Regions from separate parts of the Homo sapiens genome. Here all the other regions are linked to region 1. The links are contacts of gene promoters, found by promoter capture Hi-C in blood cells and fetal thymus (Javierre and others, 2016). All regions are on one chromosome and are shown on one strand. Each heading gives the region's core, a stretch centred on a gene start or on the middle of the fragment in contact. The rest is flanking DNA. Distances are from core to core; before and after follow the strand shown.

Region 1 (5,647 bases), core at 1,915-4,414:
TTTATCCAAAGGAGTTGAAAACTTATGTCTACACAGAAACCTGCACAAAGATGTTTATAACAACTGTATTCACATTTGCAAATTGATATGGTTTGGCTCTGTGTCCCCACCCAAATCTTACCCTGAATTGTAATAATCCCCACGTGTCATGGGAGAGACTAGGTGAGAGGTAACTGAATCATGGGGGCAGGTTTTTCCCGTGCTGTTCTCATGGTAATGATTATGTCTCATGAGATCTGATGGTTTTATAAAGAGTAGTTCCCCTGCACATGGTCTCTTGGCTGCCACCATGTAAGATGTCCCTTTGCTCCTCCTTCGTCTTCCACTATGATTGCGAGGGCTCCCAGCCATGTGGAACTGTGAGTTCATCAAACCTCTTTCCTTTATAAATTACCCAGTCTTGGGTCTGTCTTTATTAGTGGCATGAGAATAGAATAATACACCAATACCTAGAATCAGCCAACATGTCCTTCAGTAGCTACTGGAATAAAGAAATGTTGGTACATCCAGAAAATGAAAAATTATTCAGTGCTAAAAAGAAATTAGGTATCAAGCCACGAAAAGACATGGAAGAAATTTACACACATATTACTAAGTGAAAGAAGCCAATCTGAAAAGACTACATACTGTATGACTCCAACTATATGACATTCTGGAAAAAGCAAAACTATGAAGACAGTAAAAAAAAATTAGTAGTTGCCGGGGTTAGGAGGCAGGGAGAGATGAATAGTCTGAGCACCAGGGATTTTTAGGCAGCAAAACGACTCTATATGGTACTAAATGCTGGAAACATGTCATTATACATTTATACCAACCCATGAAATGTGCAACACCAAGAATGAGCCCTAATATACACTATGAACTCTGGGTGGGAATAATGGATAAATGTAGGTTCATCAGTTGTAAATGTACTACTCTGTTGTGGGATGTTGATAATGAGGGAGTTTATGTATGTGTGGGGACAGGAGTTACATGAGAAATCTCTGTACCTTCCTCTCAGTTTTGTTGTGAACCTAAAACTGCTATTAAAAAAGAGTCTATTTTTAGAAAAGGAATTGGTAAAAAAAACAAAACAAAACAAAAAAAACACAGAAGTAGCTCTACCACTCCCTGGCTGGGTGGCCTCAGGCAATTTGATTTCTCTTTTTCTCAGTTGTTTTTCCATCTGTTAAAGGGATAATAACTATTTCTTAAGATTTGTGTGACTTGAGTGAGTTGATATTGTCCAAGCATTTTAAATAGTGCCTGACACATTAAATATTTGTGAAATAGATTAAAAATAGTATTCACCACTCTGTATTGTAACTGTTTGATGATTCATCTGTGTCACCTTTAATTAAAAGCTCCCTGTGGATAGACTCCATGTCTAGCTTGTTCAGCATTTGAGCCTTTAGCTGGGCTGTGACACACAGGAAGTACCAAGGAAATATTTATTGAATGAGATGTCTAGCAGTGGAATGGGCTTCCCTGTTGGTCTAATTATTTAAGAAAAGGATGTGATGATCACCTGTCAGTGATGTTCCGGAGAGTATACCTAACACAGGAGGCTAGCAATAGTGGCTAAAATTTCTTCCAAATCTAAGATTGCATTATTCTATTTATACTTTTTCTTTAGCATTTTTTGCAGTCTAACAACAGTACCACCATAATAAAAGAATTGCATCTTTCAGCACTTGCCACCTTCACCCTTAAATAGGTTCTAGCCATACTAAAATACTTCTAGCGTTTAGGATCTTCCTCTCCTTAGGCACATTACATGCTTTTCCCTTTGTTTAGAATGCTATCTTAGACTTGTCTGTTTCACTTTCTGTATACAATTTCCAGAAAGGCTTCCCTGCTCCTCCACAAGAGTACCAAGCAATAGAATTTTGGCTTTGTATTTATCACGTTTTAAATACTGCCTGATTGCTAATTCACTAAATTGTAAGCTGCTTGAAAGCTGGATCTGTGTCTTGTCTACTGATCTTTCTCAATCACTTAAAACTTACTACTATGCAGTCATAGTAGTAAGTATTCAAGGGCATAAATGAAACCATCTTACATAGGTCTATTGTTTTTCAATTGTGTGCATCACAGACAATTTTTAAAAGCACTTTTCTTTTTATAAATGTTTGGCTAACCTGTTACAATGTTTTGTAGTAAAATTCTCTCCCAATGTCAATTTTCCATATCTGCTTAATGCTATTAAGCACAATATGTAATATGCAAACGTGTATTCCAAAACTAATACTTGCTTTTTTTCCATGCTTAGAATTTAAAGTCTTCAAAGCAAGTTGGTTTTGTTTTGTTTTGTTTTTGAGGAAAATGTTTGGAGGTAAACAGATCAGACCAAAATCAGCTAGATATTAGCCAATTTTGTCTGGAACAAAAAAAGAAAACAAAAGAGTTCGTTCTTACTGTGAATGCCACAATTAGTGAAAAAGATGAATCTTGATATTCCGGGCTGTCTGAATTGTGCTGATGAGAGAAGAAGTAGAAATGTTTTAACCTTTGAAGAGTTTGGTGATCCCTACTCTCCCTTCACTCCCATTTATTTTGTGGTTTCCCACAAAGGTTCATTTAAAAACTGAAAAAAATCTCATCAATTAAGTTGGCCTTAAGAACTTCTTTGGCCTTAAGAACTAGCAATATTTCTGTATTCCATTCTGTCCCTGAGGAAAATAAAAGGCAGGCCCTGCACCAAATTTCCAACTCAACAGGTAATGGGGAAAAAAAATTTAATTGAATTTGTATCTGTATCGCAGAAAAATCATTTCACCTGGCACAATTAGAAGGTTCCTCAGACCTGTTACTCAGCAATTGGCATTTACCATACAAACTGATGACTCATTAATAACGACATATCATTCAGTGTCAGAAATCAATTCGGGATAACATTTCACTACATTAGTTTAGTGAAAAGGGCTTACTCACGTAACACAAGTCTTTCTTTAGTTTGTCAGACATCTATTACCAGCTTTCTTCACTCTGCAGGTCTAGCTTTCCCCTCCTCTCCCCCTCCCCTACCCACTCTCCCCTCCCTCTTCTCTCCTCCCTCCTCCTTACCCCCTCCTCCCTCCTTTGTTTTTCCCTCCTCCCTCCTCCCTTTCTCCTTCCGGGAGGCGGGACAAGGCTTGCTTGCGTCCTCCGTAGATTGGCAGGTCACTGGGACGGCCAGCGCGTGCGCACTGGCCTGTCAGCGGCCGGTGGACCATGGAGGCCGCAAGGCCCTTCGCCCGGGAGTGGAGGGCCCAGTCCCTACCCCTGGCAGTAGGGGGCGTTTTGAAGCTGCGGCTCTGTGAGCTGTGGCTACTGCTACTGGGTTCTAGTTTGAACGCCAGATTTTTGCCAGACGAGGAGGACGTAGACTTTATCAACGAGTACGTGAACCTCCACAATGAGCTGCGGGGCGACGTCATTCCCCGAGGGTCTAACTTGCGCTTCATGGTGAGGCCGGAAGGCGGTTTGCCGACCCTTCCACTACCGTTGCCACAACGCCTCCCTGGATCTCGGGTAGTTGGGGCCACTGCTCTGAGGCTGAAGGATCGCGGAGAACCGCACTTTTAGCTTGGTTTTTAAAGTACACGTGAAGTTTACACAGAGAAAAACTGCGGACACTCTAACACATGCTTATTACCATGATATTACACAGGGCCAGGACTAAGGTGATGGAGGCACTGGCCTGAAGTGCAGATTTTAAGGGGGCGCCAATTCAAGAAAATGATATTTTAATGCAACGGGTTTTTAAAAATTAAAAATCAGTGCAAAAATATCAATATCAAGGGTAAAGAAAATGTTAAAAAATTTAACAAAGACAGGTTCCTTGGGTCTGGATTAGGGAAAAACAAGTGCGACACTCTCAGGGTGGTGCAAATCAAGATGAGATTCTGTTTGTATTTGAAATTTTTATTTTTAGCTTTTTCCATCATCGATGTCACATTAGCTTTGCCTTTTAAAAATGTTTGTTATCTTGATTTTTTTTTTTTGTGCCCATTCCAAATTTGGCTCCTAAGGAAGTGTCTCAGTTTCCTCACCCTAGTCTTGACCCTGATTTTGCCTTACCTTACAATGCGGTTCTTGCTTTCCCCCTCTTTTACACCCTATAGTCATTTAACAACTCAACTATTCCCTGGTTGCTATTGAGTTTTCCTGACTGTCATTAAAATGACTGAAAATCCGGCAAATAAATAACTGTCCTCTTAGGGAATTAGAAGCTTCAAACTTATAAATTATATTGCAAGGACTACTTTCCTAGACATGTCTTTTCTTCCTTCAGCATTAGTTCTTAGCACAAATTTCAGAAATGGGATAAATAAATTAAGGGTATGATATTTTTTATTAATTTAACACATAGCAATTGCTATGCTAAAGGGTAGTGCCAAATTTAGCAAATACCAGCTGTTCTGTTTTCACCACATCCTCACTGATTTGGACATGTTCAATTACTTGCTAAATGAATAAATTACAAAAATGGTCATTTGTTTTAATGTTGATTTTAAAATACTATTTTGATAGGACATACTTGAGTTCTTTCTTCGTCATTTCCTTTACCTTTTATATTGTCAGCATTTCCATGTCAGATTATATGCTGTCTTATAGAACTATGCTAGCATTTGGTTCTATCTGCTGAAGATACTTTTTTCTAAGCCAATTCTTTTTCTTTTGAATTCAATTATAGAGTTTGGGGATATTTGGGAGTTTCAACTAATTTCCCATTTTTTGTGACTAATTCTGTTTCTTCCCAATTTGAAGATTATCCTTACTCCTGAAAATTAATAAACACATAATACTTTCTAATACAACTTTTCATAGGTTTTCTATCTCATCTCTAAAAATTATATAGTATTTCAAACATAAGGTATATAAAATAATATACCTGTATACCCACAATCGATATTTTTAAATATAGACATTTTTAAAGGAATAGTATTTGATATATAGGTTAAAGTCCCACCCTAAATTTTTACCTTTTTCTTCTTTCTTGAAGTTAATGTATATTTTTCCCATGTATTTTATTAGGACATAAATATTAACTGTAAATAGTATAGTCTATCATAATAGTATGGCCTATTTAAAATGTTTCTTTAGCAGATTTGGACATCACTCAGCTTATTTAAACTCTTTTATTGGTTATTTTTAGTATTTTAATGTATGTACTTTTTATAAATTCCAAAAGTTAATACCTGTAAACTCCACCCAAATATTAATAAGATCTTAGAACACAAATTCTGAATACTTTCCATCCTTATTCATGCTATTGCCGTGTAGTACTTTTGTTCTACCTTGCTTTTAAATACCAAAAAAATTGTTGTTTTTAAAAAATTGTATTACAATATACAGGACATAACATTTACCATTTTAACCATTTTTAAGTGTATAGTTCAGTGGCATTAAGTACATTTGCATTGTTGTGCACCCATTACCACCACCTATCTCCAAAATTTTTTCGTCTTCCTGAACTGAGACTCCATACCCATCAAATAATTACTTTACTCTCCATCTCCCCTCCTCCCAGGCCTCTATCACCATTCTACTTTCTATTCCTATTAATTTGACTTCTTAAGGTACCAAATATAAGTGGAATCATATAATATTTGTCTTTGTTACTAGCTTATTTCATTTGGTATAATGTCTATAAAGTTCACCCATGTTGTAGCATGTGTCAGAA
Region 2 (5,647 bases), core at 2,126-4,625, 760 kb after region 1:
AGGTCAACTGCAATGCCTACAGGTGAGGTTGGGCTTCACTAATAACACCTAAACCATCAAAATCACCTGGAGGAGCATTTAAAAGGTGGACTCCTGGTTCTACTCCAGATGCATTGAATCCAAATGGGGATGAGGCAATAAGTCTGTGCCAAGCACTGTTCTAGGCACTTTTATTATTCTGGACACTATTATTATCATAGTCCCTATTATTTTATTAATTCAACCATTGCATTTGTCAGGTATTGGCCCCTTTTTACAGGTGAAGAAGCTGAGGCTCAGAGAGGTTGAGTAACTGGCATCGAGTCACAGAGCTGTGACTCCAACCAAAGTCTGCTTCTAGCGCCTTTGTAACCCTTGCACTCTGCCAGAACTGGAAATGAGGTAATGGAGACATACTCAAACTTATAGTTGTGTTATTTTTAAAATAATAAATATTATTATTTAGTGCCCAGAAACATGTATTCTTTTTCTGATGCCATTTATTGCACATGTAACCTTTTTAGAAATAAACTTTATTTTTAGAGCAGTTTTAGATTTTCAGAAAAATGCAAAAAATTGTACAGATAGCTAGGTCCCATACATACTGCACCCAGCTTCCCCATTGTTAACATCTAACATTAGTATATTTGTTACCATTAATGAATCAATATTATTTAGAGTCAGCAGAACTGTATGCAAGACTCAGGGTTATCTCTTATGGCTTGAGCGGTCTTGGAAAAGAAACATAATCTGTTGAATCTTAATTTACTCATCTCTAAAATATAAGTAATAATAATAAAGATTTTGGCCAGGTGTGGTGGCTCACACCTGTAACCCCAGCACTTTGGCAGGCCAAGGCGGGCGGATCTTTTGGGGTCAGGAGTTCGAGGCCTGCCTGTCCAACATGGTAAACCCTGTCTCTACCAGAAATACAAAAAATTAGCTGGATGTGGTGGCATGCACCTGTAATCCCAGCTACTGGGGAGGAGAATTGCTTGAACCGAGGAGGCCAAGGTTGCAATGAGCCGAGACTGTGCTGCTGCACTCCAGCCTGGGTGACAGAGTGAGACTCCACCTCAAATAATAATAATAATAATTTCACAGGGATATGTTGGTATATTTGAGGAGAGCCCCATACCCACACTCTTCCCTTGCCTACCTCCTGTAGAGGCTGAAGTAGCTCCATTAGGGTTCCTAAATCTGATAAAGAAAAATGTGGCTATCTGCAGGGAAGTGGTTTTATAATACCGAATTCCAACAAGAAACATATTGGCACGATGAGGCACACTGGCCAGACAATAACAGGGAGCACAGAGGAACAATGAGCATGTGCTTCAGCCAGAAACTTTCTAGAAGCAGCAGCAAGGAAGGAGTGGGGCTCCACATGGCCAGTGTCCTCTTCAAAGCTCATCAATCTGTTAGAGTCCCTCCCCTTTCCTAAGGAGAGGAGCTGGATGGGGGTCAGAGGCTGGGAGCTCAATGCTAATGGTGATTGGACACCCCTAGTAGTTAGATTTACACTTAGGAATTGACCTACATGTGTGCACTCAAATGAATGTGTCTGGTACAAGTATTCACCAGAAAGGTACTTGCTCCAAATAACTCCTTCTGCAACAGGTACTCATTTTTATTTTTCATCAAAGACTGCTATATTTGTTTCAGAAATAGTCCAGTTGCTAACAGTGAGTAGGCATTTGTGTAAGGTTGTAAAAAAGAAATGTTTTGAAATGAATCTCTATTATGACTACAGAAAAGACAATCAGATTAATTATGTTCATGGACAGCGTTTTACTGATAATGATTTCCAAAATTGGCTCATCAACAGAGTCACCTTTTTGAAAATAGAGACCTGGATGGGTGCGGTGGCACACCCCTGTAATCCTAGCACTTTGGGAGGCCGAGGCAGGTGTTCGAAACCAGCCTGACCAATATGGTGAAACCCTGTCTCTATTAAAATTAAAAAAAAAAAAATTAGCCAGGCATGGTGGCGGGCACCTATAATCCCAGCTACTCAGGAGGCTGAGGCAGGAGAATCGCTTGAACCTGGGAGGCAGAGGGAGGTTGGAGGTTGCAGTGAGCCGAGATTGCACCACTGCACTCCAGCTTGGGCAACAAGAGCGAAACTCTGTCTCAAAAAAAAAAAAGAAAAGAAAAAAAGGAAGAAAGAAAATAGAGTCCTATGTTCCACTTGGTCAGAATATCCATAAGTGAGGCTGAGGTCGCTAGAGAAATTTTTGAAAAGTGCCTTAGGAACGCTAGTAATCAGAGTTTGGGACTTATTGGTGCAGACTGTATAGAGGGACATTTAACACTGAAATTTGATTTTGGGTGAAAAAAGTAATTTTTTTCCCTAAAAACCATAGTCTTGAGTTATTAAAATGTACAAACAGATTTTATTTATTTTATAAGCTTTTCTGACTTTGAAAGTCTTTTCAAATCAGTAAAATATTTTAGTCTCAGCAAAACTATTATATTCTATACTTTGGCTATTAAGTATTAGCAGACAAGCTGCTGGAAAAGTTAAATCTTTAAAAAGTTTGCAATTTGTGCTGCAAATGCTAAACCTATGTTTTTATCTTCCCTATATATACCGATGTTTTTATCCTCCTTCCTGAGAAGGTATGCTGTTTGAACAGACAAAAATACAGATACTGCCTAGCCAACACTAAAAATAGGAACATGTCTGAAATTCACATACTCATATGCCTCCCTGCACTTCCTGTACCCACCTACTGCTTTCTCTAGTTTCTATCCCTGGCTGCGGAACCAGCCCATCCCTTTCCTAAAGAGGCTTCTCTGTTGCTACATATCAATGCAGAAACCATTGACGTGCTTCTGTGTCAGCAATAATGCTCTGTCTTTCCTACCTCATTCAAGGATCCCAGGATTCTTTTTGAACAAGAAAGAAAGGTTTATTAGTCCTCCCCACACTTCAATGCGGCAAGGAGTCAGTATTATTTTGAATGAGGCCCAGAATGAACTCAGCAGATTCATAGAACTGGTCAGAGTGGCAGGTGAATCAAAAGTTGAGTTACAGGCCAGGTGTGGTGGCTCATGCCTGTAATCCCAGCCCTTTGGGAGGCTGAGGTGGGAGGATTGCTTGAGTCCAGGAGTTAGAGACCAGCCTGGGCAACATAGTGAAAACTTGTCTCTGAAACAACAACAACAAAAATTAAAAAATTAGCTGAGCATGGTGGCACTTACCTGTAGTCTTAGCTACTCAGGAGGCTGAGGTGGGAGGATTGCTTGAGCCCAGGAGGTTGAAGCTGCAGTGAGCCATGCTCACACCACTGCAGAGTGAGATCCTGTCTCAAAAAATAAATAAATAAAAGTTGAGTTACAAATTTGTTTCTATTGGTTTTTTTTTTTTTTTAGACGGAGTTTCCCTCTTGTTGCCCAGGCTGGAGTGCAATGGCATGGTCTTGGCTCACCTCAACCTCCGCCTCCCGGGTTCAAGCAATTCTCCTGCCTCAGCCTCCCGAGTAGCTAGGATTACAGGCATGCACCACCATGCCCGGCTAATTGTATATTTTCATTAGAGATGGGGTTTCTCCATGTTGGTCAGGCTGGTCTCCAACTCCCGACCTCAGGTGATGTGCCCGCCTTGGCCTCCCAAAGTGCTGGGATTACAGGCATGAGCCACTGCACCTGGCCTCTATTGCTTCATTTATTTATTTATTTATTTTAATTCAAGAAGAAAAATCAGCCTTATGTCTGCCAGTTTCTATTCTATTTAGCAGATTTCTCTTTGCTTTGTTCTAAATATACATAATTACTTTTTCATTTTCATACTCATTCTGAGAAATCTGAATTAATAATTATTTACTGAGTGCAATATCAGCTAGCTATTGCTGCATAACAAATTTAGCTGGTTAAAACAGCAAGTACTTATTTCACTCATAATTCTGCAGGCTGGTTGTGTAGCTTTTCTCTAGGTTTGCTTTCCTGTTCTTTGCTGGGCTTGCTTATATTGTCTGTGGTCAGCTGGAGATTTGACTGGAAGCTGGATGGTCTAGGATGGCCTTGCTCACATGTCCGGCCGTTGGCAGGTTGTTGGTTAGGAGCTGGCTGGCAGGGACACTTCATACTTTCTCCTTTCATCTTTCAGCATGCCAGTTTGGGCTCCTCCACATGGAGATCTCAGGGTTCTAACCACAGCAAAAGAGAACAAGGCATAATGTGCAAGTCTCTGCTTGCTTCTTATTTGCTAGTCTCATTTTCTAAATCAAGTCACACAGCCAAGCCCAGACGCAAGGTATGGTGAAATAGAATCTACCTCTTGGTGGGAGGAGCTTCAAATTCACATTTTAAAGAGGTATGCTTACAGAGATGGGAAAAAATTATAGTCATTTTTGCAATTCACCACCAGTACATAGTTTGTATGAAGCTTAACATTTTAGAAATATAGACAAAGCATCCGCCATTGTGTGTGTGTATATATATAATATATATATAAATTTATATATATATATATATATGCACTTTTTTTTTTGAGACTGAGTCTCACTCTGTCACCAAGGCTGGAGGGCAGTGGTGTGATTTTGGCTCACTGCAACCTCCACTTCCCAGGTTCCAGCAATTCTCCTGCCTCAGCCTTCTAAGTAACTGGGATTACAGGCACTCACCACCGCGCCCAGTTAATTTTTGTATTTTTAGTAGAGACGGGTCTTCACCATATTGGCCAGGCTGGTCTCAAACTCCTGACCTCAAGTGATTCACCCGCCTCAGCCTCCCAAAGTGCTGGGATTGCAGGCATGCACCACCACGCCTGGCCTGGATTGTATATTTTATTTTAGCCTTACCTGCTGATTGAGTTGCAAATCAGGCAAGTCGAAAAAAAAAAATCCCATTCGACAACACAAATCCTACTTTTCTTTCATGATTTTAGTTTCAGATTACCTGTAGAACTTGATGCCACACAGAGCAGTTGCAGTTGGACCAAAGTGTGGTGATTATAGATGGGGTTGGGGTGAGGAAAGGCTGTCCATGGGCTGTGAGAGTAGGCTTCTCAAGTTTTAAGCTTCCATGATGTCACCATGGACTAAAAGCTTGCAGAAACAAAAGGAAAACAGCAAAAATGCTTTATTTTTCTATAAGAGCAAATAGATCTGGCCTCGCTGGGCAAAAAAACATGTATGCATAATTTAGTGAATGGGCATCTTTGGTGACTGATGGAAAAGGGATTTAGCTGAGACTCAATCCCTGGGTGAGAGACAGAGAGTAGTGAGTCAAAACCTCTAGAGAACGGTCACAAAGAGAGCTCATTCTCCATGTAATAATGTTTGAGAATCCTTCAGTGTGAGGAAGGTAGTAATTCTTTTTGATTTTTCTGAGACAGGGTCTATGTTGCCCAGGCTAATCTCAAACTCCTGGCCTCAAGGAATCCTCCTGCCTCACCCTCCTGAATCACTGGGACTACAGAAAGGTAGTAAGTCTACCACTGTGCCCAGAAAAGTAGTAAGTCTAATAAACCTAGACATTAATGCAGCATGACCCTGTTTTTTACTTTCCTCGTTTATAATGGGGGAGAATCTGGTTGTGCTAGGGATGTTTTCCCCCTACCTCGTCCCTTTCTCCTCACCCGTGAACAGGTTCTGTGGATCATGATTCTTAGATAATATTCCTCACTTTCCCAAATGGCCTGCTCATGGTTATCTCTTCCCATAAG
Region 3 (5,647 bases), core at 1,133-3,632, 670 kb after region 1:
GAAGCCGAGGCAGGTGGATTCCTTTAGCCCAAAAACTCAAGACCAGCCTGGGCAACATGACAAAACCCTGTCCTTACAAAAAATACAAAAATTAGCTGGGTGTGGTGGTGCATGCCTGTGGTCCCAGCCACTTGGAAGGCTAAGATGAGAGCATCACCTGAGCCTGGGATGTCGAGGCTGAATTGAGCAAGATTGCACCACCACTGCACTCCAGCCTGGCTGACAGAATGAGACCCTGTCTCAAAAATAAATAACAGCTTTGATGAGATAAAGTTCATACACCATACAATGAACTGTGAAGCACTATTTTGTTAAAATTTTATTTTAGGTTTAGGGGTGTATGTGAAGGTTTGCTATACAGATTATTTTATCACCCAAGTATTAAGCCCAGTACCCAATACTTAATTTTCTGCTCCTCTCCCTCCTCCCACACTCCACCCTCAAGTAACCCCAGTGTCTGTTGTTTCCTTCTTTGTGTTCATGAGTTCTCATCATTTAGCTCCTACTGGTAAGTAAGAATGTACGATATTTGGTTCTCTGTTCATGTGTTAGTTTGTTAAGGATAATAGCCTCTAGCTCCGTCCACGTTCCCACAAAAGACATGATCTCGTTCTTTGTATGGCTGCAAGTATTACGTGGTGTATACATTTTCTGTATCAGATCTGTCACTGATGGGCATTTAGGTTGATTCCATGTCTGCTAATGTGAACAGGGGGCACTGATTTTTAAAAGGTTATACACACTAGGTTATGAGTCTCCTAAAGAATGATTAAACCTCTCTAACAATAAATGTTCACACTTAAAATTTAAATAACTTCAGGGAATCTGTGCAACAGATACAAAATCCAGGTTAAACTTTCCTGCCACAAACTTTTGTAAATCAAATAATTCACTTACTTAGCCACCAGTTTACTTAAGATTATTAGAAATAAAAAACAAACACTTGAAGATATCAACTTTCTATTTCTGTTAATTTTAAGTGAAAAGCACTATTCTGCCAAGGTGGTGAACTGGCATGGGCTTCTGGCTTTTCTTGCTCCCCCAAAAAGCTAATCCCAGAAACTTTAGAACAAGAATGAAGTAACTACTGAGGCACACACACACCATAAGCAATTTCAGGTAAGACTGGAGGTTGTGTTTAACTGTACAGGGTAACCAACAACTTAGGGAGGGAATGGCCACAGCAGGTAGCAGTGCGGACAAACTGGAAGATAGCAGTTCCGCAAGAAAGCTTTTTAAGTTCTGCTCCTGCCTTGCAACAATCGTTGTCTGTCATCTTCACCCTTCACAAGAGCCCAATGCGAGGGTTGATGAAAGCTGCACGGTTCAAAGCCTTCAAACATGTATTTGATCCAATCTAGGAATGATGAATTGACAACCAAAGGAGACTAGTCCCCCACCCTACAAAGCACACCATAAAAATTGCCTGGACTGGCAGCAAACTTTCAGTGTAAGGCAACTAGTGCTCTACTACTTAGGCTCACCCTGCGCCCTTCTCCTTGTCACAGACCTTCATTTCTCCCCAAATATTCATTATTAGGGTAACTGGTATTGCCTAATGTGCTGGAGCTCAGAGAATAACTAGAAACTTCAAGGGTACAATTTCTATGAAAGAGTGAATGAAATGATTATCATCTGAAGCAGCATAATTAGAGAATTTAAACAAGAATGTAAATATACTTAGAGATGAGGAAGATTGACATGCAACAAGACCAAGAAATCTACAACAGACTGGGAATGTTAAGTATGAAAAATACAATAACTAAAATAGGCAACAAATAAGAGAAACAGGATAGATTCGACTGAAGATAAAGTCCATGATGTTGAAAAGTTCTACCAGAAGGCAGCATGAAAGACAGATGGAAAATAGAAAAGCTCTGAGATATGGACGACAAAAGTAGCAATAGCTGACAGAGAAGGGGTACGATCTCTTCACATATGAGAATGATACATTTCTCAGCATTAAAGCAATATAAAAATCCTTACTCTGCTTCCTAGACATGTTAATGAGATTTATGAATATCACAGACAAAAGAAAATTCTAAAGGTGTCCAGTGAGAAAGAATAACCTACAAAGAAAAAGGAATCAGACTAACAACAGGCATTAAAAGAAACACTGAAATAAAGAAAAAAATAAATTGTAGTTTTTAAGAACTCTGAATTTACTATTTCATAACCAAACTATTATTCAGATATAAAAGCAGGACAAAAATTATATCAGGTATACCAGGCTTCAGGTTTGCCACAGATACTCACTATATATTACTAAAAGCAACTTTTGAGGAAAATTTTTTAAAAATCCAGCAGATTCTATTTAAGGTATGGGTGTGGTCAAATATCTTGGTAAATTTCTTTCCTTGAAGGGAAAAATAGAGGGCCAGAGAAAGCACATTTATGAACAATATAAATATTGGTAAATTTAAGAAATCAACAGGGGTAAATAAACTTAGATATTAGGTTATAAGCCACTACCATAGTAACAAAAATCAATGCCATTAACTTTGGAACCAGAAGGCGACTTGATCTATCCAATGGGAAGCAGAAAAGAAGGAAGAAAGACCCAAAGTAAAATAAATTAAAAAATAGAGAAAGATGGCAGCAATAAATCCAAAAACAATACAACTTCTAAGAAATGCAACTAATAATAAAGAAGCAAACATTGAGGCCGAGTGTGGTGGCTCATGCCTGTAATCCCAGCACTCTGGGGAGCCCAGGCAGGTGAATCACTTTAACTCGGGAGTTCGAGACTAGCCCAGGCAACATGGCAAAACCCCATCTCTACAAAAATACAAAAATTAGCCAGGCATGGTTGTGCATGCCTATAGTCCCAGCTACTTGGGAGGCTGAGGCAGGAGAATCACTTGAGCCGAAGGATGAGGCTGCAGTGAGCCGTCATTGTGCCATGGCACTCCAGCCTGGATGACAAAGCGAGACACTGTATCCAAAAAATAAAAGCAGCAAACACTGATACTAGAGGAAGACACACAGATGAAAAGATGGAAAAAAAAGACATACTAGGTTAAAAGTTTAAAAAAAAAAAAAAAAAAAAAGAGGCTGGGGGTGATGGCTTATGCCTGTATTCCCAGCGCTTTGGAAGACCAAGGTGGGCCCAACAGTTCGAGACCAGTCTGGGCAACATAGGGAGACCCCCATCTCTACAAAAATAACAGCCAGGCATGATGATATGTACCTGTGGCTCCCAGCTACTTGGGAGGCTGAGGTGGGAGGATCACAGTGAGCCATGAGTGTGCCACTGTACTCCAGAGTGGATCACAGAGTAAGGCCTTGTCATAAAAGCTGGGGGTTATTATTGTAATATCAGACAAATAAAAATTATGACCCCCCCAAAAAACATTATAAAACACAAAGGAAGACACATATCAGTAAAATGAAACAAGAGAACAAGAAATGTTCATCACAAATATCATACACCTAATATGGCTCCAAAATATTTCAATCTACAAATGACAGAAAAAACTGTCAGGTCAAACAGACAACCAATAAGCAGAAATAAAGAGAAGCTGAACAATACAATAAGCTTGAGCTATTAATTTCAGCATACAGATCTTCACACTCAACATTTACAAAAGTAAGAGTATTAAGGCCATAAAAAACACAAATTAAAAAATAAAAATCAAATGAATTAAGCATTCAATTTAAAAAACTGGAAAGAATAACATAGAGCAATCCTAAAAAAGAGATAACAGCAGCAGTAACAAAAGACAGTATGGAAAAGGAAAACCAAAAGCAAAATTAATATTCTAAAAACTTAATAAGATCAAGACAACCAGCAGAATTAAGATGCAAAATACAGAATATGAAAACCAGATTTTTAAAACTATTGTAAACTATGTACTAATCAATTTTAAACCTAAATATGTACATGTTTAAAATATGAAACTCCAAAACTGATGAGAGAACTTGAATAAATTAGTATGTTTAAAAAAAAAAAAATTCTCCAAAACTCCCCTGGACCTCTACTTCCCCAACTCCAAAGTCCCAAAGTAAATTTTTAGAAGAGTTCTACCCTAAGAACTGCTAATTGCTATCTTATGCAAGTTGTTTCAGGAAACGAAAAATTTTAAAAGCTGCTCCATTCCTTAGGCAATTGAAATCTTGACTCCAAAAACCAGTTAAATATTACCACTTCCTGAAACTTTCTTTATGCACATACATACATGCATGCACACAACACAAGCTCATTTCACTAACAAGTAAGAACTGTAAAATTCAATTACTCAACAATGTAACAATAACACATCATGATTCAATTTACTACAGGAATGCAAGGCTAGTTTGATATCCAAAATAAGTATTTCCAAAACATGTATTTACTATTTACTTAATATACTGAAGGGAAAAGTTCAATAGAGCATCTTAATTGATACAGTTAAAAAAAAAAACCAAAGGTCAGATTAAAAAACAGTAAATAGGCACTGAATTTAATGGAGATTTTATATTCATTCCCAGTATGAATAGAAATAAGACAAAGAATACTAATGTTTAACACAGTAGTGAAAGTCCTGGTAATGTTGTAAAGAAAAGTATGTGGTATAATGTAATGTGGAAGAACAGAGCTAAAACTGCCATTATTTGCAGATAAAATCTTGTGACTGGGGGGCAAAACAGAACACATTACTACAATAAATTTAGCAAAGTTACTGGATACAAGAGCAACTTAAAAAAAAAAAAAACAGCAATCCTCTGTAAATCAAGAACAGCCAAACAGAAAATACAAAAAAGATGCTATTCACAACAGCCACACAAAATATACAGAAATTAACTTAACCAATAGACTCTATGAGGATAACTTTGAAACTAAAGACACAGAATGTGACCTGAATAATTAGAAGTATGTGGATGAGACAATATTAAAAGATATAATTCTGTAAATCTACAAATGCAATATAATTCCTATCAACGTTTTAAGGTTTTTTTGCTTGTTGACAACCCTGGTAAACTTAACTGTCAAAAATGTGGATGATTGGGGGAGAAGTATGAAAGGATGCAACCTGCCCTGCCAAATATTAAGACAACTATAAAGTCATAGTAATTAAGTATGACAATGACAAGAGACAAAGACCAATAAAACATAAGAGTGCTGCTCAAAGACAAACACGGGTGTTTACAACTTGATATGCAATGAAGGTAGGTGGTACACCTAAATGGGGGAACAATGGATTGATTAGTGAATAGTGTTTAAAAAAAAAAAAAAAACTAGCTCATGTCACTGGAGGAGGACCCAAAATAAATAAATAAATAAATAAATAAATAAATAAATAAATAAACAAACAAACAAACAAACCTGGCTCAAAAAATGAGGCAGAAAAAAAAGGAACTGGAAGCCTACGTACAACTAATACAAAGGTAGACTCTAAAGGGATTTAAGACCTAAATGTAAAAGGTGAAACTATTCAATACGAAATGTAGCAGAAACCAGGAGGGACTTCTTAAAAAGTTTCAAAAGTACAAGCCCTAGGGCAAAATATTTTACTAAAATAAAACTTAACTGTTTACCAGAGGACTCCATGGATAAATTTGTAGAAATGACACATTATTTAGAATGTCTAAAAACTGACAAGGGAATAACATTTGGAATACAAAGACTTTTGCAAAGCATTAAAAAAAAGTTGCAATCCCAACAAGA
Region 4 (5,647 bases), core at 2,289-4,788, 620 kb after region 1:
AATTAAAACAGTTGATACCTATACAGGGGTTTCAATTACCTGAGTGTTTACTTAAAAGCAGGTTTTACATCTAGCTGATAGAGCTAACTGTCCCAATTCTTAATATTCATTTAGAATTTAGACACAGTCAGGATTAACACCTGCTGAAATATGATATTGTATCTTGGCTCAAGAATAGATTGCTTGTGAAATATAATGACTGAATTTCAGGTAAGCAAATGCAAACAGAAATGTCGGTCTATTCAAACTTCCTTTCCCTGGCTTGAGATTTGTTAATTTAATTGATATAAAGCAATACTCTATTGTGCTAAAAATCATGGATTTTTTTTAAAACAAAATAGTTTTATAATAGAAGTAGAGACCATAAAATGTGTTTATGCGCAGTATTTTACCCAATACCCAACATACGGTAAGCAGTCACTAGCCAGAAGCCACTTACAATACTTGCAGAAGTACTAGAAATGATAATAGTTGTATCTATCACTTATGTGCCAGGCACTAAATATATTTATTTATATACATTTATAATTTCAAAACAAGGCCTATCCACAGATCAAGATTATCATTACCATTTTACAAACGAGAAAACAGGTTTAATAAAATATTAAGTCCACTAAGCAGTAGAGCTGAGATGTGGAGTCTAGAACTAATTCCACAGCTTGCCTAGGCCTTGCTCTGCAACACCAGGCTGTGCTGAGCAGGATTAACTGGTCAATGAGCAAGGTTGTCTCAGGACCTTACCCACTGGAAAACCAACCTGTTTGGACATCAAAGGAGACCCAATACCCTGGCCATCTTGGCCTCTGCATCCCCTTTCCTCACATCCCTGCCACCTCCTTCTTTTCCACCCTGGGAAAATCTGGCTGAGAGATGGAGAGCACTGGGGCTGAGGAGAGGGCTTGGGAGGCTGGAGGTGGGTTCAGACATGGCTCTGGGTAATAGCACATGTGTGTTTCTTGATTAATGTCAGAATGCTCTGGCAGAAGGGGTGCTGTGAGTTGCCAAAAGCCAGGAGGGCATTTTCCTCTTTGCTGAGTGGCTGATGCTCAGAGACACATCTCTATTCTTTGAAGCTGGTCTGCTTTGTTTACAATTATGCCCTAGTCATTAGCCAACGGGGACTTTGGGAGTAGCTTGTTCTGGGAATACTTCCTGTCAGGTTTTTCCCAGCCTGTCTTTGGAATGCCTCTCCAATCCACTTCATGACTCCAGGGGTGGTCCAATGTGCCCAAAGGGACTCTGCCTTTGTGCTCAAAAGGATTCCCAGCACTCAACTTCAAAAATAGCTTGGGGCTTACTAAAACCTAATTGAAAGAGTCTCTGTTTTTGCTTAAAAACACAAGTCTGGCCTGGTCTTTACAAGTGACTCATAAAGAATTATTTTGCTACTTGCTTTTTAAATTACATGTCACTGTCGGGTACTAATCTGTACGCTTATTTTGGAAACCCTGAGAAATGGCTACTAGGGTTTCTCTATCTGTCTGAGGAATCTTCAAGCCTCCAAGTAGAAGCAGCAACCGGACTTTGGTCTTGACAGTCAGACACCCAGGAGACTGGACTTAGCACTCCTGAGCTAAGAGGAGACTCAAGGCTGTCCTGCTATCCTGGAAGAGCAGAGGAGGAGGAAAGAAAGAAGACACATTGGTTATCAGGAACCACCCTGAGGGAAAGGCAGCCAAGGACAGGGCCCGTAGAGGGATCCAAACTGATGGACACTTGTGAATAAATATCACACACGATGGAGTCTCAAATGGCACCTGGTCCAGGCCCAGGGAAGCCTTTCTAAGTTCCTCAGGGGATGACACTGTAAACTGGAAAAGCCAGACTCACTTACGATGGAGGCCACAGCAGCAGCCATGGTTGATAGTAGCTTTGTCCATTAAGGGTTAACACCAGGTATTCAATGAGCTGCCTAGACCCTGTGGGGAAGGAGATGAGGAGACGACAATGAGAGGGTGGGGAGATCAAACCAAATACTATTGTCACTGTTGCCCAAGTCACAGTGATTTCCATGGTCAGGGGCTGGGATCTGGGACATTCCGATTTCTTACTATGCTATCAGTGAGGACTAGGTTAGCTCCTTTCCCCTTCCTGCCGCCTGTGCTTACCCCTACTGAGCTCCCCATGAGGCCTCCATCTTTTCTTCTTCCTGCCTCCTGTGCTTACCCCTACTGAGCTCCCCACGAGGCCTCTGTGTTTTCTTAGCCGTGAGTCTGACTCTCCACTGAACTCCATTTTCATCTCCAGGTTCATTCCTTTGCTGGTGATGTGCCATCACATGCTCCAACTGTACTTGCCACCAGGGAAATTGGAACTGCCCCATTCCTGGAGTTCTAGTGCTCTTGAGCCCCAGGCATTCCATGAGAGAAGCCTCCTTCTGGAAAGTCCCATGAGCACCTCATGCCGGGTGGTCAGACGTGCACCAAGGGCTGATAGTGTGAAGTGGTGTGGGCAGGGGGAGACACAGACCCTGGGCAGGAATCAAAGATAAAGCTTCTATCCACATAACAGGCAGATTGTCCAGATGTCCCACGCAAGGGCCTGGAAGAGATGAGGTTGCAGGCAGACCAAGGAGAAGGTGGAGGAAGGGAGGGGAGGAAGTACTGAAACAGAGCTCTTAGAAAGATGTTCACTGCTGGGCAACACCATCACCTCCTCTAGAAGGCATGGATAGCACCAAGTAAGTGTGAGAGCTTTGCCATCACCCTTCCAGGCAATTTGCTTTTAGTGTCTTTGTAACACTTGGAGTTTGCATCTTACTCAAAATCTCTCCCCGGTCTGCTTCCCTGGCAAAGTCTGTCTTGCTTTTTGCATCTTTGCCCCCTCTATAACTCCTACATCCCTTAGGAACCTGGTCTTCCTGGGAAAGCGTCTTCCACACATACCCCACCTCCACCTGCCATCTCACCCGCTACACACACTCAAAAATTCCCCAGCCCCTCAAACAGGGGGTAAGAGGAATCCCTTAGGACAAAAAGGTGCATCTCCTACCTGAAGAGCAACCTGGATTCTGCAGACTGAGGGAGGCGGCTCTGCTTCAGGGCTCTGCAGTCTCTGAAGTAAAATGAGATTCAAAGCTGGGAGGAGAAGGGTCATGGTCAGCTGCCCCTTCCACACTCCCACGCTGAGCCTCAGCATCTCTCCTGCCTGAGTGGTAGCCCTGTCCAAATGCCTAGGGCCTGGGCCGTTGAGGATTAGGCCTGAACCCAGTAATCCCCAAGGAGCTGCAGAAAGCCGACTTGATGGGTCTCCTGGTGATATCATTGCAGCCAGAGAGCACACACAGGGTGCAAGCAGTCAGATGAGACAGCCAGGACAGGAGGGGCTGCAGCCCTTCCACAACACCACAAAGACCCTCACATGCTCATTTTGGCAGGGCGCAGTGGCTCACACATGTAATCCCAACACTTTGGGTGGCTGAGGTGGAGGATCACTTGAGCCCGGGAGTTTGAGACCACTCTGGGCGACATAGTGAGACCCCATCTTTACAAAACATAAAGTTAAAAACATTAGCTGGGCATGGTGGCATTGCTCCGGTAGTTCCAGCTACTTGAGAGGCTAAGGTAGGAGAATGGTTTGAGCCCAGGAGTTTGAGGCTGCAGTGAGCTATGATTGCGCCACTGCACCACTCCAGCCTGAGCAACGAGTGAGATCTTGTCTAAAAACAAAACAAAACAAAAAGCTCATTTTTAAATGTTTATTATTTTTGTTTTTTGTTTTAAATAGCGATGAGTTGCCCATGCTGGCCTCAAACTCTTGAGCGAGAGTGATCCTCCTGCCTTGGCCTCCCAAAGTGCTGGGATTACAGGTGTGAGCCACCACACCCAGCCAGAAAGTTCTTTTTAAAAGGGGAGAAACAACAGCTCCAGAAGGGGCTTTGATAAATTATTTAATTTAAAAAAATCAAATTAAAGTAAAGAGGGTAAAGAGCTGGGTGAAAGCGAGCTAGGTGAAGAGCTTGCGTGTCCATCCTCCTGCCGAGATGTGGTGAGCTTGCCCTCATCCCATCAGCTGGACAGCTCTCCACTGAGCCTACCCATTCACCATGATTCTTGCTTTTCCTCAGCTAAGGCCCTGGGTGCAGGCTTAGCACTGTGGGGGGCCTCTGGGATGATGAGATGTTCTCATTAATTCCTCAGGCAGCAGTGTTTGCAGTTGGGAGACATGACTTCCATCCCGCTCCTTATAAAGTCATATGTTTTTCTTGAATAAATGCTAAATCAAACTAGTCTTTCTGTTTTTTCCCCTCAATTCATAACCTCATCATTCCACAAATAAAATGATGCCTTCAAAACCCACAGACTGTTTTGCAGGGTGGTCTGGGAGAGATGCCGCCTGAGCCGGCCTATGGCTCCAAACTCATCGCTGGAAGATCACAGCTGCCCTCTCCCCGGCCACTCTCTTTTCATGAGGAAAGGTGAGCCCGGCTGCCCTTGGTCTCCCCCAGGCCTGCTTACATTAAAGGGTTGGGAGTTAGCCTCCTGCCCTGAAAGGAATAGGGGTTCTGGAGTATCTCAGATCCGTATCAAATCACAGCTTTGCCGCATAATTGCCCTCTGCTCTTGGGAACTTTCTCAACTTCTGTAAGCTTCTGTTTTCTTATCAGTAAAAGGGAGATAACAATACCTATCTCGAGGCACTGTTATGATAAAAGACCTGTCATAAAATAAATGCTTAGAAAATGGGAACTATTATTGTTCAAGTTTTATTATATTTCCTCAATCGTTATTCTCTCCGTTTACATAATTGAAGTAAAACACTGCTCATTAGAGTGTGCAGGTAATAGAGGACTTGGCTTAAATAAATTTTCTGCCTAAATTAAGTCTTTTAAAACCATCCATTTTCACTTTTAGGTCATGGTGTAGAAAATAATTCTAGATCAAGTTAGAATATGTTCCGACCTCAGCAAGCAACCACGTACTTTGATTATGTAGCACCCTTCATTATTCTAAGGAGTTCTCATTATACAGGTGGGTTGAAGACACACTGTGTGTCAAAAGAACCAAAACCAAAACAAAATCCTATAAAATAGCAGGTCTTATAGTTTCCTTCTTTTTCCCATAGGAAGGAAGGGGAAAATCACAGAGTAAAACCAGATGCTTTTGTAAATTGATGAAGATGTTTGCTGCATGTGGCTCCAAGAGATTGAAATTAAAAGGGCAGGCTGGGTGCAGTGGCTCACGCCTGTAATCCCCACTTTGGGAGTCCGAGGCAGGTGGATCACGAGGTCAGGAGCTCGAGACCAGCCTGGCCAATATGGTAAAACCCCATCTCTACTAAAAATATTTAAAAAATTAGCCGGGCATGTTGGCAAGCACCTGTATTCCCAGCTACTCGGGAGGCTGAAGCAGAGAACTGCTTGAACCCGGGAGGCGGAGCTTGCAGAGAGCCGAGATCACGCCATTGCACTCCAGCCTGGGCAACAGAGCGAGACTCCATCTCAAAAAAAAAAACAAAAAACAAAACAAAACAAAAAAAAACAAAGAAAGAAAAAGAAATTAATAGAGCAGGGTGAGGGTGTCTTATGTCTGTAATCCCAGCACTTTGGATAGCCGAAGGAAGATGATTGCTTGAGCCCAAGAGTTTGAGAATAGCCTAGGTAACATAGACCCCATCTCTACAAAACATTTAAACAATTAGCTGGGCA
Region 5 (5,647 bases), core at 919-3,418, 590 kb after region 1:
GCAGAATCCTGGAGATGGTTGAAGTAGGAGCTGCTACCCACTACTCCCTCTCCAACTTCCCCCTCTGAAAAAATGCCCTTTAACACTGACACTCAACCTCACATGGTGAGCAAAAACTGCTGGCCCAAGGTCCTGGCCTCTGCCACAGGCTATGAGCCTCATTCAGGTTCCACATTTAGTGTGACACAGATGTTACTTCCTCCTAAAGTTAAGGACATGGACTTAAACAATTCATAAGCACCTCCAAAAATAACTTCCATGTGCTCTGTAAATACCACCTCCAGACATACTCCAAAATTAAATTCCTGCCTCATTTGTTTTCCCGACACCTGCTCCTCAACTGACCAAACTGTTTCCCGTAAGCATTTAACATGCTCTCTTCTGGGGAAACACTGGCTACAGGAACCACACTGGAGAGCTGCCTTACACAAAAGACCAACACAAAACAAAGTACTTGTGCTGCTTTAGTAACATTCCCTGGATAAGGTGCAAGAGGGGTGGGCATTTCACCAAATTGTACTCCACAGTGAATAGCATTATAGCACAAGGAATGTTTCCAGGGTAATCCCCTCCATGCTGTCTTTGTTTTCTAATTAGGCTTTCTTACAGTAAGCTTATAATGTCTCCTACAGACTATGGGCACCAGATCACAGAGGCAGCCAGACCTGTGATGTAAGGAAACACAGAAAGTGGCCTTGGATCAAACATGAGCTTCAAAGATTGACGGTCCTCCTCCATCCCTTATGAAACTACCATAACCTGAAGCCTTTCATCCTGGTGGCTCCGAAGCCTAAGCCAGTGCTTTTTTTTCCCCCTGTTGCCCAAGCTGAAGTGCAGTGGCATGATCTTGGCTCACTGCAACCTCCACCTTCCAGGTTCAAGTGATTCTACTGTCTCAACCACCCGAGTAGCTGGGATTACAGGTGTGCAACACCAGGCCCAGCTGATTTTTGTATTTTTAGTAGAGACAGGGTTTCACCATGTTGGCCAGGCTGGACTTGAACTCCTGACCTCAAATGATCCACCTGCCTCGGCCTCCCAAAGCATTGGGATTAAAGGTGTGAGCCACCACACCCCACACCCAGCCCTAAGCCAGTGCTCTTAAGAAGAAAACTGAGGCCAGCATGGTGGTTCATACCTGTAATCTCAGCATTTTGGGAGACTGAGGTGGGACAATTGCTTCAGGCCAGCTTGGGCACATAGCAAGACCTCGTCACCACTAAAAATTATAAAAACATTAGCTGGGCGTGATCCCAGTTACTCAGGAGGCTGAAGCAGGAGGATCACTTGAGCCGAGAGGTTGGAGCTATAGTAAGCAGTGATTGCGCTACTGCACTCCAACCTGGGTGACACAACAAGACCCTGTCTCAAAAAAAAAAAAAGAAAACTCTGAGACCTTGAACCCATTACTGCTAATAAACCCAATAACTTTTCATTCTGCCTAACAAAAATAGACCCTCCTTTAAAAAGTGGTTGCCAAGGGCACTCCAAGGTCATCAGGCAAGTGAAATAAGAGACAGCTTGATAGAGAAGAAAGAGAACTTGGCTTTGGAGTTAGACCGTTTAGTTCCTCATTATGGCCATTTCTAACTACATAATGATGTTTAGTTACTTAAGTGCTCTGAAATGCAGTGGCCTCCATTACAAAATGGAGCCAACAAAAAAAAATAAGTATCTCCTGGTGTTGTATTTAATAAGATAATGGACTCAAAAGTGCCTGGCACAAAATAGGGGTGTAATAAACGTTAATTTCCTTTTCTGCCTCTACAAACCTGCCTGAGCCAATCAAGGAAGAGAAGGAAGGCGAGGAAGTAAAAATGGTTAAGAATTACATTTTAAGTCCCATTTCCACTCAGCTGCTTTTCCTAGCTCAGCAGAGAACATGTCAGACTAAAGAAGATCAAATAATCTTTGGGGTGAGTTGCCCTGATAAAGAAATATGCTGAAACAGCCTGTATGTTCTCAAAGTAAGAAACCAAAAGGGGAAAGTTCAGGACCTGTAAATAGATCCTTTTCATGCCCAAGTTCTGCAGATTTTACAACTTGCTGGGATATTTCCCAGGGAAATCAGAGAGAGGGGATAGTAAGAGGTGGCAGGGGGTTGGCGGGGAGGATTTCTATATTCCCATCACAGATCATTTAACTCTATTTGCAGCTCAGGAACCCCAGAGCACAGGAGACAGACCACTGAAAATTTCGTGCTTATTTTACCTCTTCACTGTCATTACTTTAAACATGTGTCTTAGCAGGAGTATTATTAGTTCATGACACAGTAGACATGGATAAGCATTTTTATGGAATTTTAGGGTGGGGAGAGAATAGATATATACCACTCTAGCCCAAAGTCATCCTGTGGTCGCTACTTAATACAAGTGAATTACATAGTGCCACCGGCAGAAGATGGAATTGATACTGCTTTACAAAATAACAACCTTGCATACATAGGTGGTAAGAAAAGCAAGGAAATGACTACCACAAAAATCAGGGTAGTGGATACCTCAAGACAGGAGAAGGGAGGTACGTCTAGAAGGTAAACAAAGGAGGGACGTCTGGGCTGGCCATGTTCCATTTCTTGATGGAGGGTATTCACTTTGTAATTATTCATTGTACTATACACTTATGCCTTCTGTTTGCATATTCTATTTCATAATTTTTAAAGGTTTAAAAAAAAGAAAATAATAACCTCTCTTCATTGAGAAAATAATACTTTGCTGTAGGTTTCAGCCCTAGGTATTGCAACATTACCATCATCCTCAGTTGATGTTCTTGTTCCTCCCATAGATTTTTATTCTGGAAGAAGAAGAGGAGGGTAGTATTTTTTTTTTTTTTTTTAAGACAGAGTCTCACTCTGTCACCCAAGGCTGGAGGCCAGTGGCACGATGTCGACTCACTGCAATCTCTGCCTCCTGGATTCAAGAGATTCTCTGCCTCAGCCTCCCGAATAGCTGGGATTACAAGTGCCCGCCACCACGCCTGGCTAATTTTTGTATTTCTAGTAGAGATGGGGTTTCACCACTCTGGCCACGCTAGTCTTGAACTCCTAACCTCAAGTGATCTGCCCACCTCGGCTTCACAAAGTGCTGGGATTACAGGCATGAGCCGCTGTGCCTGGCTAGGAGGGTGGATTTTTGAAGAGCCACAGGTAGACTGCTGTTAATACTCCTGTATAGATAACATACCAGGGAATGTTTTAATACAGGAATATGCTTGAGATATATACACACAAACATAATACACACACACACACACACACGTAATTTTTTTTTTTTTTTTTTTAGAGAGAGACAGGGTCTTACTATGTTGCCCAGGCTGGTCTCAAACTCCTGGCCTCAAGCAATCCTCCCGCCTGGCCTCCCAAAACGCTGGGATTATAGGTGTGAGCTACTGCATCCAGGCTTTTGGGGTATATTTCAAAGAGTCCAATTACTCTTGAGTCAGAACTCAGTGAAGCTCTACAAGATACCAAAATGTTCTCCAAGGGGTACGCAGCATTCGCAAATCAGAGTCATCAGATGCAAAGAAAGGGAATACAAATGGGCTTATGAAATCATTGGAAAAAATACACAATTTTTCAGGAAATATTAAGAACTCAGTTCCTCCTCCAATTCAGGGCATAGCAGAGCCTCAGGGCCTCTATGTGAAGAAAATCCCTCCTGTGTTTGGCATCTGAGTGACTCACCCAGAAAACCATCCACTGCGTGCAGCAAAGAGGAAATGAATCATGGAAGCTTCTGACCTTTGCACTTGTCATCTCTGCACAGGGAAACCACCCACAGACAGTCTCAGCAGAACTGGAGTCAGGGCAGTCAAACAAAGCACACACAGAAATGATGCAAATTCACTGGCAGGGAAGAGCAAGAGAATCAGGGCAAGAGAACGCAGCTCAGGGGTTGCAAATACAGGATAAACATTGGTTTTGTGATACAGAAAACTTAGCAGTTGAAACGGCATTGAGGATGATTTGGCAGTGCCCACTGACCTGTTGTTTTAAGCAGGAATCTGAACCCTTACCCTGCTGGCTGGGGGTGGGAGTGGAGTGGAATGGCATGGAAGAAAACAATGACCTTTGAATCTCCATCTTATATTTGGTATTTGGAGAATTTGCTTGGCTTGCGTTAGAGGAAGTAGGCCAAACTAATGCCAGTATGAGAGTTGGAATGGATTTGATAGAGTCACATTTAAGAAGATGAAAGCCAACGACTGCATTTTGAAAAGGCCATGAGTTCACAATAACTGGTCCAGGAGTACTAACACAATCTGAAGAATTATCTACAGCCATAGTCCAATACTTCACGTTGTGATTTGTTTTAAACAAAATCAGAATGCCTTTAAAATGCTAATTTGGAAGATAACTATAGTTCATCCTAAAACATGTACAGAGTAGAAAGCAAACACCTAGCGAGGACAGAAGGGCAAACCTCAAACTGCCTACATTACTGAATACAAGTGCATCAGGACTGTACGCTGAGATGCGATTGCTCTCAGCTTGTCTGCTCACCCATCAATGATGAGGGGGATAAGTGACTACCTACTGAGTTGCAGAGTTCAAAGGCATTTCCCTTCACCCCAAGGTGAGTTTTAAATGCAATTTCCCTTCTCACATGGGTCTACAAAGTACAGCTTCCTAAATACCTTTTTTAAAAAGAATATACCATCCCTCAAAAAACATCACCCAGGCCTTTGCCCTCAGGATAAACTTGGCAAGGAAACCTTGTCCTTACTAGTTAGAAGACTGGGAATTAGGCACTCGTATGCCACACAGTTTAATACGGAGCTCTCTCCTGTGCTTGATAACTCAGGCTGATAGAAGACATTGGATATTGGATGGTGTTCTGGTCACAGCTCAAGAAGGAAGATTTGGGGCTGATCTTAGAAACTTCCCTGTCCCTTCCATCCCACTTCTCACTCTGGCTACCTTCATCTTCTCTCTTCTTACCCACTTCAACATCACTTTACTTTAGAGAAAGGAGATTAGTCATTTCCAAGTAGAGAGGCAGCATTTATTGCCCTGCACCCTGTAGTTGCCCTTAGCATTTACCAACGGAAATGGAAGTGATTCAGTCTTCTCTCACATCACAGAACTATAGTGTGATCCTTTGCACACCGTTAAGTGATTTACATACAAGTGGTACCAGGGAGTGCTAGTATTCTCTTTCCACTCCCTTATGAAGTTCCATCCCCACTTCTATCAGTATATGCAACTAATGAACTAGTATATTTCTGCAATAATAATAATTTTTAAAACAGCTATCATAAATTTGATATTTACCATATGCCAGGTACACTGCTAATTTTTTTTTACAAACATTAATCCTTTTAATCTTCATAGTAACCATATTAGATTGGTGCTATTTTCATCCCCACTTCAGATGGGAAATGATGAGTTTAGGGGATTGTGTAACTTGCCCAAAATCAAGCCAAAAGGTAAAGGAGCCAGGATTTAAGCCCAGAGCTGTTCACCTCCAGAATCTGAGCTCTCAGCCACCACACTATAGGCCCTAGGAGGCTGAGGGCAGGAAAAGAAGCAACTGAATTCTATTTGTTGCTACAGTGATTCTGGTCACCTTTTCTTTATGTAATCATAGCAGGCAGTAGACGGGAAACATAATGAAGTCTTATTTCCAAGAGGACATCTCAGCTGTCATCT

What was found. The method cuts DNA at HindIII sites, captures the fragments that hold promoters and counts their contacts. A CHiCAGO score of 5 or more calls a contact.
Region 2: a fragment that was not itself captured here is called in contact with the fragment with the promoter of GLIPR1L2 in region 1 in 1 of 17 cell types (monocytes); the score reaches 5.2 in monocytes.
Region 3: a fragment that was not itself captured here is called in contact with the fragment with the promoter of GLIPR1L2 in region 1 in 1 of 17 cell types (naive B cells); the score reaches 5.2 in naive B cells.
Region 4: a fragment that was not itself captured here is called in contact with the fragment with the promoter of GLIPR1L2 in region 1 in 1 of 17 cell types (naive CD8 T cells); the score reaches 5.8 in naive CD8 T cells.
Region 5: a fragment that was not itself captured here is called in contact with the fragment with the promoter of GLIPR1L2 in region 1 in 1 of 17 cell types (monocytes); the score reaches 5.1 in monocytes.

What each region holds. Positions count from the first base shown.
Region 1 is chr12:75,387,925-75,393,571 of GRCh38, forward strand. GLIPR1L2 (GLIPR1 like 2) reads left to right here and starts at 3,165. Exons shown (of 6, transcript NM_001270396.2): 1 at 3,165-3,426. The coding sequence starts at 3,193. It also overlaps a transcript of CAPS2 not described here. RefSeq lists a silencer at 2,967-3,139 and an enhancer at 3,097-3,226. The HindIII fragment of the contact is 6,589 bases long and covers 1-4,191 here.
Region 2 is chr12:76,149,643-76,155,289 of GRCh38, forward strand. No RefSeq gene overlaps it. Among named protein-coding and RNA genes, the nearest start is that of NAP1L1, 68 kb to the left of the region's middle. The HindIII fragment of the contact is 1,978 bases long and covers 2,387-4,364 here.
Region 3 is chr12:76,060,853-76,066,499 of GRCh38, forward strand. All of the region lies in intron 4 of NAP1L1 (nucleosome assembly protein 1 like 1), which reads right to left. Among named protein-coding and RNA genes, the nearest start is that of NAP1L1, 21 kb to the right of the region's middle. The HindIII fragment of the contact is 2,307 bases long and covers 1,230-3,536 here.
Region 4 is chr12:76,009,706-76,015,352 of GRCh38, forward strand. No RefSeq gene overlaps it. Among named protein-coding and RNA genes, the nearest start is that of PHLDA1-AS1, 18 kb to the right of the region's middle. RefSeq lists a silencer at 1,044-1,338. The HindIII fragment of the contact is 2,095 bases long and covers 2,492-4,586 here.
Region 5 is chr12:75,974,381-75,980,027 of GRCh38, forward strand. No RefSeq gene overlaps it. Among named protein-coding and RNA genes, the nearest start is that of PHLDA1-AS1, 53 kb to the right of the region's middle. RefSeq lists enhancers at 3,094-4,293, 3,622-3,791, 3,668-3,812, 3,822-3,871 and a cis regulatory region at 3,733-3,746. The HindIII fragment of the contact is 3,115 bases long and covers 612-3,726 here.